Regions from separate parts of the Homo sapiens genome. Here region 2 is linked to region 1. Evidence: promoter capture Hi-C in 16 types of primary human blood cells and fetal thymus (Javierre and others, 2016). All regions are on one chromosome and are shown on one strand. The core of a region is centred on a gene start or on the middle of the fragment in contact, and the rest is flanking DNA. Distances in the headings are between cores, read along the strand shown. Region 1 holds the start of EMC7 (ER membrane protein complex subunit 7). Region 2 overlaps KATNBL1 (katanin regulatory subunit B1 like 1).

Evidence for each region. The method cuts DNA at HindIII sites, captures the fragments that hold promoters and counts their contacts. A CHiCAGO score of 5 or more calls a contact.
Region 2: a fragment that was not itself captured here is called in contact with the fragment with the promoter of EMC7 in region 1 in 9 of 17 cell types (naive B cells, total B cells, activated CD4 T cells and 6 more); the score reaches 7.7 in naive B cells.

The regions. Positions count from the first base shown.
Region 1 is chr15:34,099,838-34,104,438 of GRCh38, reverse strand. It overlaps EMC7 (ER membrane protein complex subunit 7), which reads left to right and starts at 2,577. Exons shown (of 5, transcript NM_020154.3): 1 at 2,577-2,835. The coding sequence starts at 2,600. PGBD4 (piggyBac transposable element derived 4) reads right to left here and starts at 2,356. Exons shown (of 1, transcript NM_152595.5): 1 at 1-2,356. The coding sequence starts at 1,907. The coding sequence ends at 150. RefSeq lists enhancers at 2,147-2,236, 2,267-2,966, 2,576-3,433. The HindIII fragment of the contact is 6,792 bases long and covers 1-3,949 here.
Region 2 is chr15:34,194,201-34,198,801 of GRCh38, reverse strand. The region is part of intron 1 of KATNBL1 (katanin regulatory subunit B1 like 1); the gene reads left to right. Among named protein-coding and RNA genes, the nearest start is that of KATNBL1, 14 kb to the left of the region's middle. The HindIII fragment of the contact is 1,563 bases long and covers 1,779-3,341 here.

The DNA.
Region 1 (4,601 bases), core at 1,328-3,827:
TAGAGACAGGGTTTCACCATGTTGGCCAGGCTGGTCTTGAATTCCTGATCTCAGGTGATCCACCCAGGTCGGCCTCCCAATCTTGGAGTTATTTCTAAACAGAACTTGTCTCTAATCCTAATGGAACAGATGTGTATGATGATCGGTATTTAATAATTTTTTTTCGTGTGGTAAATTTCAAAGCACGGAACAACACAAAGCGGAACATCACATTCGGCACAAAAATAGCGCGTTTCTTTCCGGATCTTCTTGCCATCCTTGTCGTATTGGGAGCAGCAAATTTTGCAGCGACCAGTTGGATTCTGTTTCCCGGACGTTGCTGGTATGCTCTTGGGGAAATGTCTTCCAGACAGACGAAGAGGTGTGACATCATCGGAGCAAGGACGACCTCGAAGATGTTGCTGCCCTGGCTTGTGATGCTTTTCCAGCATTCTTTCAATCAATGCCAGTCTGAAGTTTATATGGCTCATCGTGTGCTCAGGATTATCCTTCTTGAACAGGATGTAGGAGTTCAGCACTGTAATGTGTAGAAGATGGTGAAAGAATTTCTTATACCAAACCTTGTGTCTTTTGCGCTCAGATGGATAAGAAGTAAGCATTTGATCAGCCGAGTCCACTGCTCCCATATTCTCGTTATAATCCACAATGACACGTGGCCTTTTAGTTTTCTTTCCATTTCTATTGTTTACTTCAATCACAGTATCATTGTGGAATGTTGACAACATTGTCACCTCCTTGCCGTCACACCATTTCAGTGCCATAAGTTCACCACAGAATCTGGCTACAGTCGTCCCCTTTGCAATCCTTTTTTTCAGATCATTTGGAATCTGTTTTCTGTTCAAACGAGCTGTCCCAACTGCATCAGTCCTATTTTGATGTAATTCTCTGAAAAGCATGGGAGATATATTAAAGTTATCGAGGAAGACACAATACCCTTGGCCAAGAAGGTCATTGACCAAGGTAAGAACAATGCGTGATGATTTCAGGCCATCCGCTGAATCTTTCAAATTCATGCCAGGCCCTGTGTGAACAAGCGCATTCCACACATAACCAGACTGACTTTCACAAAGTACATATAGCTTCAGACCAAATCGTACTCGTTTTGTCGGGAGGTACTGCTTCATAGCTAATGGCCCCTTGAACAGCATCAGTGATTCATCAACTGCAATGTTTCTGTTTGGAGTATATACAGTGGAAAATTTATTTACAAGAAAGTCGAACACAGGTTTGATCTTCTGCAATGAAATCTGGGCCTTTGATTGACCAGCAGATATAGAAGAATTGTTGACAAAATGCAGGCACCGAAACAAAAGTAAAAATCTTTCACCAGTCATAATTTGCCTGAGATAAGGTGTATCCAAAAGAGGCCTTGTTGACCAAAACATCTCCAGCTCAGGTTTCTGCACAATACCTTGCAGTAACATTACTGCAAAAAAGACTTTGAGCTCGTCATTGTCAGTGTCTTTCCATTTATCCATTCGCGAAAATCCTTTCGGACCCGGTGGCTTTGAAGCCAACAAGGCAGCTTGGGCATTTGTTTCTCTAGTAATTTTTGAAACTAATTCCTCAGTAAAGAACAGTTCAAAATACTGCAATGGGTCAGTGATATCACTGACATCGACTTTTCTGCCAGGTGTGCCGGTAAAGTCATACCTTTGACGTGGAATCATAGCACGAGCTGACCATTTCATGGAGCGCCCTGAGTCACTTGATGTAGAGCTCTTTCCATCAGATTCTAAATGGGACAGAGGCCTGATCTTATCGGCTTCTAAAGCACTATCCGAAAAATTATCAGAATCATCTATTTCCGAAAAATCAGATTCATCAAATGAATCTTCAGCCAACAACTGTTCGAGACCGGTATTACTATCACGCATAGGAATGCTACGTTTTCTAGGATTTGACATTTCAGCGATCGAGAATTACTATATTTTGTAGATGGAAATCCCACTACTAAAAACAGAATGCTATAAACAGAATGATGTCTTTTGTTTCAAAAGTCAATATACCAGAACCATGCGAAAATAACAGAAGCGAGATATTTCGTGGCAAACTTTGGGAGTAAGGTTGGCACTGTAATCCACGAGTTATCTCGGCGTAAACGCTGCAGTCGCAGGCACAGCAGCGCGTAATCTCGGGGCTAAGGAGAAATGAGTTAAACGCACACAGACAGAAGAAGCCTTTCATCTCATACGTCTTGGGGAGTCTCTAGAAGTTTTTTGAAAGGTCTCTTCTGGATGGTGTTTCTCCCGAAGCCAGTCTCGTCATCTTTTACTCCCGTGAGGTCCTTGGCCTCCGTGGCTGCCGCAGCAACACACACTTGACTTTCACTTCATGGGCAGTCCCCTTCATAGGCACTTGACACAGGCTCTGTGCGCCGTCTTCCAATCCAGAGTGCCGGGAGTTAAGGGCAGTACTTCCGCCTTACTTCCGCCTCGCTAGTCGATCGGCCATGATCTCTTCCCTCTGGTTGGATCCCACAGCTTATGACAGAAACGGGCGCGCAGTGATGACAACATCAAGCCGCCAGCGGCGGCGGTGGCGGCCGGGAGACTGGGAGGGCTTCCGGGGCTGCCGGTCTGAGTGCAGAGCTGCTGTCATGGCGGCCGCTCTGTGGGGCTTCTTTCCCGTCCTGCTGCTGCTGCTGCTATCGGGGGATGTCCAGAGCTCGGAGGTGCCCGGGGCTGCTGCTGAGGGATCGGGAGGGAGTGGGGTCGGCATAGGAGATCGCTTCAAGATTGAGGGGCGTGCAGTTGTTCCAGGGGTGAAGCCTCAGGACTGGATCTCGGCGGCCCGAGTGCTGGTAGACGGAGAAGAGCACGTCGGTTTCCTTAAGTGAGCATCCTGAGGGCAGCGGGAAAAAGGCTGGGATGGAGGCCGGACAGGGACCCCACCAGGAGAGTTAAGTGTCAGGACGGGACAACGTCGCTGTCTCAGACTGAAGGGGAGGGTGCCGCTAACGGTCTATGCCGGGAGACCTTGGGAGGCAGTCGGATGCTTTCCCTTTCCTGGTCCTGTACCTCTGGAATGAGCATGGCAGGCGCTCACCCCCTGCCATGGTCAGAGCATGGAGTCAGTTATTTCCAACCTTATTTTGGCCCCATGTGGGGACGATCATTCCTGGGCCCTGGGGACAGGTGGACCCTTATTAGTCTCTTGTTGGATTCTTTTATATCTCATCTGGTTTCCCTAGAACCTAGTCGTTTTTTGCATTCACTTCAGTCTTTTGGTAGCTTGTTATTATGTAGAAAGATGCGACACAAGTGGGAATTCTCAAAACCCAAAGGGCTTCTAGTGACGACATAGACTGGGAGGCTAATGTTACTGCTTCTAAAATTAATAGGCTCTGAAATCCCTAATCAAAGCACTTTTTTTTTCTTTTTTTTTTTGCTTGGGGGTGGGATCGTTGTTCTTTTTTACAGTTGAATTCATCGAGAGATTTGCTATATCACACTTGTCATTTATGTGAGACTAGGGTTCCTCTACATTGCTTTCTTGCTTCTGTCCTTTCATGCTATTAGTGGAAGTGGGTTTTCTGTCTATATTAAAAGACAGGATGAATTTGTTAGCACTAGTTTTGCAGCAGCCTGCTTTTGAAATGTCTAGGCACGCGTATGTTGTTTTAAATCTTTCCACCCTTACTTGGAGGTGAAACTGTAAACTGAAAGCAAATAATTAGGAAGTATTTCCTTTGGTGGGTTCGTACACCAGCAAATGGTATCTGAAAATCAGACAACTTAAATGTAGACATTTAAATCCAAATCTGATTTACATATTTGTTCAGATCATCTAAGTGCCCTTGAGTGGTTATTCAACCTCAGATTAATAAATAGTGACAAATTTACAACCAGTATTTTACTGCTGTCTGTCATTAAGAATCTGGCATTAGGGCATTCGTTAGAGTTTACCCTAATTAATGATGTTTTAATGATAAAGTTCTCATTAAGCTTTAGGAATAAGCCTTAATTGACCATTTGGCCACTCTTCTGTATACAGTTCTTTTAAAAAGCATTTAATTTCTGTTTAAAAATAGTATATTAGAAACAAAGTAGGAAAACAACCCTTAATGTTTCATTGTATCTTTCTTTTTATTTTTTTGAGACAAGGTCTTTTTCTGTTACTCAGCCTGGAGTGCAGTGGCGAGATCATAGTTCATGGCAGCTTCGAACTTCTGTACTCAAGTGATCCTCCTGTCTCAGCCTCCTCAGTAGATAGGACTACAGGCGGACACCATCATGTCCAGCTAATTTTTTAATTTTTTGTAGAGACAGGGTCTTGCTATGTTGCCCAGTGTGGTCTCAAACTCCTGGCCTCAAGTGATATTTCTGCCTCAGCCTGTCACATTTTTGGGATTATAGGCGTGAGCCACGGTGCCTACCATTTTTCCAGCTTCTTTTGGAATCATATGACTTAGGTTTTTACTAGTAAAATACAACATGTAGTAGTTTGTATCCTGCCTTTTTCACTTAATATTTTTGAACAGCTTTTGATACCATTTCATGTTCTTTATTTGTATGTAGAAAGGTTGATGGAGAATTTCCAGGCGCGGTGGCTCATACCTGTAATCTTACTTTGGGAGGCTGAGGTGGAAGGATCGCTTG
Region 2 (4,601 bases), core at 1,311-3,810, 94 kb before region 1:
TCTTTGCTTCCCTTGCCAGTCCCTCTTCCCAGTTCTTGACCAAATACACCTAAAAAAGGAATGTCACATTTATGGAACTGTGTGATCTTTCTTTGAATCTGGTTTAACATTAAACTATGGGTTTTTTGTTGTTGTTCTTTGTGATAAGTTCCACCTGCTATACACTGTTAGCGCAAAGTATTTTTTTGGAACACTTTTGTATTAGTTATGGAAATAAATTTTACACATTGATTAAAATGTAGAGAAACATTCATTGAGATTACTCAGCAAGTCCTGCTGGACTAGAAGCTGTTACTTTCTGTAAAATGACTCTAAATATCTTTGCTTTAAACCACTATCTACTGTTTCATAGTTTAACTCCAAGAGCAGTTTTTGTTTGTTTTCCCTAAGCTCTTAGATAAATCCTCAGGGATATCTCAGTGCTTGACATATTGTATTATAATTGCTTGTTTGTCTATTTCTCCCACTAGAAACTATGGGATGATGGTGAGAATTTCACAGCAGGAAAGATTGGGAAGTTTAAGGATCTGAACAGGAGTTAGGTAGGAAAGTATTACATGCTATGATGTAGCTGTATATACCACCAAAAATTCTACCTTAGAATGGTTTAGGTCACTGAATTTCATAATTTTACAATTATTTCATATTCCTTTACATAAGAATTTGTATGTTGCAAGGCTTAAGAAGCTTTAATTTATCAGTTCCTATTAGCGTATCGTCCTCTTTTTGTGTCAAGAAAAGAAACTCGGCTGGGTGCGGTGGCTCACACTTATAATCCCAGCACTTTGTGTGGGAGGCCGAGGCAGCGAATGGATTACCTGAGGTCAGGAGTTTGAGACCAGCCTGGCTAACATGGTGAAACCCTGTCTCTACTAAAAATAAAAAAATTAGGTGGGTGTGGTGGCGTGTGCCTGTAATCCCAGCTACTAGGGAGGCTGAGGCAGGAGACTCTCTTGAACCTGGGAGGCAGAGGTTGCAGTAAGCCGAGATCATGCCACTGCACTCCAGCCTGGGCAACAGAGCGAGACTCCGTCTCAAAAAAAATAAAATAAACCTCATTCTTTTATTTAAAAGGTAATATTTTTTACTGGTAAAAATTGATAAAAATAAGCCAAAGACAACGATTCAATCTTAATCTCATAGAAAAATAAACAGAAAAAAGGAATGTAATACCACTATTTAGAAATAACCCTTATCCTTTCATTCTTTTCTCTGTGCTACATATGCACATATAGAAACATACAACAAATTTAGGAACTGATATTAAAGTTTGCTAATACCACGAATCATGTTTCTTACACCAAAGGCAACTTGCCTCATAGGTGATGTTTGTGTATAACTTGATAATAGCTAACATTTACGGAGTGATTTACAGACATTGTGGTAAGTGGATTATTTAATCCTCACAGCATTATTCTGAAAATAGGAGATTAGGTAACTTGCCTAAGATGGTACATAACTAATAAATGGTTAAAACAGGACTTAAACCCAGGTAGTCTGACTCTAGGACTTATATTTCTCTGTCACACCATACTGCCTAGTCTTTTCAGTTTAAACGTAAGAAAAATACAACTTCACATTAAATTTTTCAAAAGCAAACTAAAACATGACATTGTTCATCGTTTGTCAGATTTTCAAAGGTAAAAACGTTGACAAGACAGAATCTTGTGTTATCATGGATGCAAATAGTGGTTGTTCTCCACCTCTAGTAGCAGGAGTCTAAGTTGGAAAAACCTTTGTAGAGAGCAGCAGTCTATCTCTGCCACATTTGCCAAGCTTCTTAGTTCCCAATTTAGTGAAGACAGCAATTGGAAATAGGAATTTAAAATATATTGTTTCCATGAAATTAATTGTAATGCTTTGGGTAGTCTGGACAAAGGCAAATGCCTGAAAAACTGTATATCAAATAAGGTGTAGATTAGAAAGCTAAACATAAATGAAGTAAAACTGTAACAGTTTAGGATTTTGTACTGATAATGTATCAAGTTCTTGAGCCACTTTAAGCCCAAACTATAAATTATAGATGATGCATCATACATTATGTTTAGATTTCTTTCTTTCTTTCTTTCTTTTTGAGACGGAGTCTGGTTTTGTTACCCAGGGTGGAGTGCAGTGGTGCAATCTCAGCTCACTGCAGCCTCTGCTTCCTGGGTTCAAGTGATTCTCCTGCATCAGCCTCCCGAGTAGCTGGGATTACAGGTGCCTGCCGCCACGCCTGGCAGGTTTTCGTATTTTTAATAGAGACTGGGTTTCGCCATGTTGGCTAGGTTGGTCTTGAACTCCTGACCTCAAGTGATCCACCCACCTTGGCCTCCTAAAGTGCTGGGATTGACAGGCATGAGGCACCGCGCCCAGTCATTTAAAAATTATTTTATTTTATTTTTGAGACAAAGTCTCGCTCTGTTGCCCAGGCTGGAGTGCAGTCATGCAGTCTCGACTCACTGCAGCCTCCACCTCCCGGGTTCACGCGATTCTCCTGCCTCAGCCTCCCAAGCAGCTGGGATTACAGGCAGGCGCCACCATGCGTGGCTAATTTTTGTATTTTTAGTAGAGATGGGGTTTCACCATGTTGGCCAGGCTGGTCTTGAATTCCTGACCTCAGGTGATCCATCCCACTTGGCCTCCCAAAGTGCTGGGATTACAGGTGTGAGCCACCACGCCTGGCTGATTTTTAGATTTTAAATTGAAATGTTTAAGATACATGTGTAACATCTTTTTTTAATGAATCTTTTTATTTTATTTTTTCTCTGAAGCCAGAATGTGCTTACCCCTTTCCAGTTTTTATTATTTTGAGACACATTTTAGATAAGCATGCACACGTAGTTTAAAAAATCAGACACACATTGATTTCTCATATAGCAAGTAAGGTAAAGATTTATAAATCAAATGTTCATAAATCACAAAGTTACTTTTAGGACCCTAAATTTATTTGCATTTATCATCAATTTCCATGTCGCCATAACTATTTTGTATATTCCACAAAATAGAATTGCTTTTGAGGAATGCAGTGTGGTTTGCAGAATTCCCAATACATAGTCATTTGACAGTTACAATTAAAAAAATTATTTGTGGGTTTTTTGTTTGTTTGTTTTTTGGGTTTTTTTTTTTTTTGAGATGGCGTCTCTCTCTGTTGCCCAGGCTGGAGTGCAGTCATGGGATCTCGGCTCACTGCAACCTCCACCTCCCAGGTTCAAGCAGTTCTCCTGCCTCAGCGTCCTGAGTATCTGGGATTATAGGATACAAGTGCAATTTTGCTACATTGATATATTGCATGTGGTGAAGTCAGGAGGTTCAGTACATGGATCATTAGAGCAACACGCATTTTACCCATCAAGCAAGCTTTCATCATCCACCTTTCTCCCACCCCTACCTCTCTGAGTCTCCATTCTCTATTATTCCACACTGCTTTCATATGTACACATTACTATAAGTGAGGACATGCAGTATTTGTCTTTGTGTCTGAGTTGTTTTACTTGAGATAATGGCCTCCAGTTCCATCTATGTTGCTACAAAAGACATTATTTCATTCTTTTTTAAGGCTGAATAGTATCCCATATTGTATATGTACCACATTTTCTTTATCCAGTCCTCTGTTGATAAGACACGGGTTGATTCCATATCTTTCCTATTATAAATTGGTGCTGCAATAAACATATGAGTGCAGGTGTCTTTTGGATATAATGATTTATTTTCCTTTGGGTAGATACCCAGTAGTGGGATTGCTGGATCATATAGTGGTTCCGTTTTTAGTTCTTTGAGAAATCTCTGTGCTGTTTTCCATAGAGGTTGTACTAATTTACATTCCCACAAATAGTATATGAGTTTGTTTTCTCCACACCCTTGTTATCTGTTACTTTTTGTCTTTTTAATAATAGCCATTCTGATTGGTGTAAGATGATATTTCATTGTAGTTGTAATTTGCATTTCTGTGATTAGTGATATTGAACATTTGTTCACATGCTTCTTGGCCATTTGTCTTCTTTTGAAGAATGTCTATTTGTGTTCTTACCCTGTTTTTTAATGGGATTATTTGGGGGTTTTTGTTCAGTTGTCTGATTGTCTGAGATCCTTATAAATTCTGGATATCGGTCCACTGTCAGATATATAGTTTGTAGATACTGTCTGTTCACTTTGTTGATTCTTTGGTTATGCAGAGGCTTTCCCTTCCCAACCCCACCTCCACACGGTCCTGCTCTGTTTTCTAGGCTGGAGTGCAGTGGCACAATCTCAGCTTAACTGCAGCCTCCACCTCCCAGGCTCAAGCTGTCCTCCCACCTCAGCCTCCCAAGTAGCTGGAACTACAGGCGCGTGCCACCATGCTCATGTAATTTTTAAAGTTTTTTTTTCTTATTTTTTATAGAGACAGGGTCTCAGTATGTTGCCCAGGCTGGCCTCAAACTCATGGGCTCAAGTGCTACTCCCGCCTTGGCCTTTCAAAGTGCTAGAATTACAGGTATGACCCACTGCACCTGGCCCTAAATCATATTTTCAAAAAAAAATCTTTTAACATGTAGGAAAATATAATATTAATGACAAAATGCAGCATATAAAACTAAACTGCAGGCTGGGTGCAGTGGCTCACGCCTATAATCCCACCACTT